Regions from separate parts of the Homo sapiens genome. Here region 1 is linked to region 2. The links are contacts of gene promoters, found by promoter capture Hi-C in human tissues and cell types (Jung and others, 2019). All regions are on one chromosome and are shown on one strand. Each heading gives the region's core, a stretch centred on a gene start or on the middle of the fragment in contact. The rest is flanking DNA. Distances are from core to core; before and after follow the strand shown.

Evidence for each region. The method cuts DNA at HindIII sites, captures the fragments that hold promoters and counts their contacts. A contact is called where the count stands out against the background at its distance.
Region 1: a fragment that was not itself captured here is called in contact with the fragment with the promoter of GPC6 in region 2 in 2 of the 25 tissues and cell types used here (mesenchymal stem cells and pancreas).

Annotation. Positions count from the first base shown.
Region 1 is chr13:93,805,960-93,808,737 of GRCh38, forward strand. All of the region lies in intron 2 of GPC6 (glypican 6), which reads left to right. Among named protein-coding and RNA genes, the nearest start is that of GPC6-AS2, 51 kb to the right of the region's middle. The HindIII fragment of the contact is 5,761 bases long and covers 1-2,778 here.
Region 2 is chr13:93,225,556-93,228,255 of GRCh38, forward strand. GPC6 (glypican 6) reads left to right here and starts at 1,252. Exons shown (of 9, transcript NM_005708.5): 1 at 1,252-2,061. The coding sequence starts at 1,902. RefSeq lists an enhancer at 1,845-2,687. The HindIII fragment of the contact is 15,285 bases long and covers 1-2,700 here.

The DNA.
Region 1 (2,778 bases), core at 43-2,542, 580 kb after region 2:
TTGAGTCTCGTCAGTCATTCACCACGCTATGCCTTAGGTCACTGTGCTCTCCTTCTTTGGCTCTTTCAATTTTCTCTTTGTAGAAACCTGTAAAGATGTTTTTATAGAAATTTCAGTATTAAATCAGCTACACATATTTTGAATAAGAATGCTTTTCTTTGAACACCATGGAATGCATGCTTACTGGCAACCTTGAGATCACTTGGAAAATAACCGGGAATGGAGGAGAGGTTCTTAAGCCACACCTTGGTTGTCATTAGTCTACTCAATTTGGAGAGTATGTTCATGGGCCTCTGTTCCATTGTGCATTGGCTGGATGCATATGTTGAGCAATGGGGACAACGTATAATTTTTTTTTCACTTGCCACAATTTTATTCATTTTTATTTTTTATTTGAGATGGAGTTTTACTCTTGTCACCCAGGCTGGAGGGCAATGGCGCAGTCGCGGCTCACTGCAACCTCTGCCTCCTGAGTTCAAACAATTCTCCCGCCTCAGTCTCCCAAGTAGCTGGGATTAAAGGTGTACATACCACCATGGCCAGCTAATTTTTGTATTTTTAGTAGAGATGGGGTTTCACCATGTTGGCCAGGCTGGTCTCGAACTCCTGACCTCAGGTGATCTGCCCTCCTTGGCTTCCCAAAATTCTGGGATTACAGGTGTGAGTCACCACATCCGGCCCACTTGGCACAGTTCTAGATTGAGGTAAATATTAATCTAGGTTTTGCTTAAATTCCTGTGGACAGACAGATAAAATATACAATGTTAGGATTCTTAGCTAACAAGGGATACTGCCAAATGATAAAATATTAATTCTATTACTTTGTATGCAGATATGTGAGAACTAGAAGCAATTACCCTGACTCTAATTGCTTCATAGATGAATACAATTATGATGTTATACTCATCCTGTCTGTATTCTCAGTATAAAATAACATCAACATAAGACAGTCAGAAATTTCATTTAAAAGTAAACCTTACCAATGTGAAATATATTAAGGCAATAAACCAAGAGATTAAACTTTCATAAACAGTAAGAGCTTATTGTTTTGTAAATGAGTGTATAATAATATCTTTGCAGCTCAAATGAAACCATAAAACTGACTGGGGGCCTCACTTTTTTCAGCAAACTTTTGATTTATCTTTTTAATCTGTTCTTAGCATTGTATAGCAATTAAACACTGGAAATGGGCTTTACACTTCTTGCCACATTGCTCTTCTCCCGTTTCACTTCTGTCATTTCTTTTATAATGACAAGCAATTTAGAGGAACAAGAAACAATTAAAATGTAAGTAGCTCCTGCTGTTACAGGTGTTCTCCACTAATGAATAAAAATGACTGGGATTATAGAAAGGTGAGATTTAAGGAAAGATCTCTTTTGGGTGTTAGAAAATTTAAAGATTTGTGGACAAATTCAGAAGGTAAGCACAGATTCCCAAGACGTAATTCCTCAGGGGAATTTGATAAAGTCAATTAGTTGTTGAAAGTACCACATACAGAGGCTGGCCAAATGAAATTGTCAGTAGTTTTAGTGGGCATGGGAAGTGTGTGATGTGCCTGAACTGGAGTTACTGATTCAGACAAAATGGCATGAAGGCAAGAACTTACATTCCAACAAGTTTCCGGTTGGTTCTGACACCACTGATCCAGGGAACACACTTTGAGAGCCACTGGTCTAACAGAGGCCAATGACTTTTGCATTCTTTCTGTCCACTTCCTCTTGAAAAACACTCAATGCTTGATAGAAATACTTCAAGGCTGTGACGGCTTGACACTGGTGTATGGTAGACTCCCGTAGGGTAGTAGTAGACTCACTTGCGATAAATAAATTCACAGATAATCAAATGTCTTACAAAAGGTTATATACTTGAACATACTGGAAACTCAAGACCCTTTCCCTTCTAATTCAGTGCTATGCTGTCTTCAGTAATCTGTATCCATGACAAAGAGGTTTCTGGGACATCGGTCACTCCCCTAAAGGCAACAGTTTAAGGAATTATAATTTTGTTTTAAATTATGAGTCTGACTTAATGAAGAGTAGATGGGTGACTTAGACAACATTGTACTTATGAAATTAAGTAGGCCACTTACACTTCACTTTCCTGAGTCACCCTAGTGTCTGTATAATACAAAGGAGGCCAAATAATTTCTTGGTTATAAAACCTCAGTTCTAAATGTTAACATTTTATTCAGCAAAGACTAGATTAATTTAGATTAATGGGATAGTTATTACTATACACTATATAGCTCTATGTGTAAGTTGTAAAAACAATTTTAAAAATTAGAACATTTTCATCCTATTCTGAATATTACACAAAATATATTTCTTGTAAAGATGACACATGTAAAGATCACACATGCTCTTGTAAAGAGCCTTATCTAAAGACTCCAAGTGCTAATTTAACAGGTATACACAAAGGAAAAGGGAAAAAATATCATGTAAATTGTAAGAATTAGCCTGATCTTTAAGTACATAATAACTCCTCTCTCTATATGAGATGCTTTCAGCCAAGGTCTTCTATCCTCAACATTTGTCTTCCAAATAATCTGTTGGATAACTAAGTTTCCTTTAATGTGAGCTGAAATATTTCATTCAATTTTTAAAGTTTTAGTTCCTGTCAAAAAATACAAATGCCAGCCACTGTGACAGACTTTGAACTTACATATTGTTAATATGAACTGTATGTAATTAAACACAGAACTCCTATGGAAAGCAAGTTTATTCCAGAAAGTATGAGTGAGGATGAGTTCACTCTACAGATAGTTACTGAGTACCTAC
Region 2 (2,700 bases), core at 2-2,501:
AAGACAAAGTGGCTCTGTAAATAAGTCGACTTCATTTTTAAAGCGTTTGGAAAGGTTAAATGAGGTTGAATCTTGAGAGTCTTTTTGGTGGTTAGGAGAGGGGGAATTTATTAAAGAGAGGAAGACAATGTACCTAATATGTTGTGATGATAATGACAAACTCAAAGATTTAAACTTCATGAGTCATTCTGGTCATTCATATCATCATCAGGAAAACATCTTCATGTGTAGCTTCATAGGTGAGCTCCACAAAACTGTGCATTACCTTGTAGTAGTTTGTGAATAATGTGCTGACCTATGACACATAGCCACGTAAGTGAATAAACACTATTATTATTATTATTTTGTCTTGGTTTTCATTAAACTATCTTAGTAGTTTCAGGAGCTCTGGGTTTCAACACACACTTCTGCCAGCTGACTTTAGTGCGTCCATTAGCATAACAAAGTCAATTAGGCAAACCTGAATTTTCACTTTTATCCCGTTCACAGAACATCAGTGTAAATGGAGACAGGAAGAAGAAATTGGATTGATTCTCCACTTGAGAATTATGTTAACTTGGAAGAAAATGTTAAGTCTACTATGTGAGGGCATCTAGTGAGAGGGAAGGAATCACCTCCCTTCCCCCATTATGTCCCTTTATGCACCTCTGACCCTTGTGCTCTCCTTTTCTTGTTGCTTCTGTGGTCTGGTTGTTAGCTTTCCCGATCCTCCACACATTAGAAACCTAAGCATAATGATTTCTGATCGAAGGCTATGAGATATTTGAAATAAAAAAAGGGGAAATTGTTGAGTCTAGAACCAAACCTTTAAAAATTAAGAACTACCAGTCTGTAATGTGTGCCTTTAGAAAAAAACAAAGTCAAACAGAAATTAGGCAACTAGTTAGAGCCGTGATTGTGCTCTGCCACCCATGAACTCCCGTCTATGACTATTTCCACTCTGGCTTTGTGTTTCAGTAGGTCAGGGACACATATTAAGAGCAACAATTGGAACTGCGTTATCCTTTACCTCCATAAAAATACAGCTTAATAACATGTTAATGACTTAAAATTACCTTGTCTTTCTAGATTGTTTATTGATGTCATTTCAGATCGGTATAAAGGATGTGAAGTGAATAAGAAAATAGGTACGTTTCTTTTTCTTTTTTTCCCCTTTCTACCGACTAGGAAGAGATCCAGTCCAGGTTTTGCCTTTGACTCGGCCTGTGAATTTCGGCTGTGCAATGTGTAGCACGTTTCTTTCTCCCCCCTCCTTTCTCCTTCCCTCTTGCCTCCAGTGACTGTCTCCAGGATTTCTCTCTTCCTATTTCAGGAGGACTCTCACAGGCTCCCACAGCCTGTGTTAAGCTGAGGTTTCCCCTAGATCTCGTATATCCCCAACACATACCTCCACGCACACACATCCCCAAGAACCTCGAGCTCACACCAACAGACACACGCGCGCATACACACTCGCTCTCGCTTGTCCATCTCCCTCCCGGGGGAGCCGGCGCGCGCTCCCACCTTTGCCGCACACTCCGGCGAGCCGAGCCCGCAGCGCTCCAGGATTCTGCGGCTCGGAACTCGGATTGCAGCTCTGAACCCCCATGGTGGTTTTTTAAACACTTCTTTTCCTTCTCTTCCTCGTTTTGATTGCACCGTTTCCATCTGGGGGCTAGAGGAGCAAGGCAGCAGCCTTCCCAGCCAGCCCTTGTTGGCTTGCCATCGTCCATCTGGCTTATAAAAGTTTGCTGAGCGCAGTCCAGAGGGCTGCGCTGCTCGTCCCCTCGGCTGGCAGAAGGGGGTGACGCTGGGCAGCGGCGAGGAGCGCGCCGCTGCCTCTGGCGGGCTTTCGGCTTGAGGGGCAAGGTGAAGAGCGCACCGGCCGTGGGGTTTACCGAGCTGGATTTGTATGTTGCACCATGCCTTCTTGGATCGGGGCTGTGATTCTTCCCCTCTTGGGGCTGCTGCTCTCCCTCCCCGCCGGGGCGGATGTGAAGGCTCGGAGCTGCGGAGAGGTCCGCCAGGCGTACGGTGCCAAGGGATTCAGCCTGGCGGACATCCCCTACCAGGAGATCGCAGGTAAGCGCGGGCGCGCTGCAGGGGCAGGCTGCAGCCCTCGGCTGCCGCACGTCCCACTGGCCGCCCGGCGTCCCCTTCCTTCCCCCTGTTGCTGAGTTGGTGCTCACTTTCTGCCACCGCTATGGGACTCCGCGTCTCCGTGTTGGGCGGCGGATGCTCCTGCGGCTTCTTCGGCGGGGGAAGGTGTGCGTCTCCGCCGCCTCATTGTGTGCACACGCGGGAGCACCCTGGCTCCCGCCTCCCGCTGCTCTCGCGCCCTTCTACCCCTTAGTTGATGGCTCAGGCCCGGCTGGCCAGGGAGCCCGGGTCACTCCGGGGCGGCTGCAAGGCGCAGACGGAGAGCCGAGCCGGGCGCTCACTCCGCGTTCTGGTTCGGGCAAACTTGGAAGAACTGCGACCGCAGTTTGCCCAGCGCCACAGTCTGAGTGGCGCCTTCTCCACTCCCGCCCTTGCGCCGGCAGGGGCGGTGGAGAGACGCGGAGGGCTCCCCCAGCCCCTCTCTCCCCTATCCGTCCTTCGGGCGACAGAGCGCCCGGCGCTCGGGCCGGGGGCGGGCAAGGCTGGGAGGGACCCTCGCCGGGGACCTGGCCTCTGGACGCCGGCGTTTCAAGGCTGGTTTGGGGACTTCACGGGCTGCCT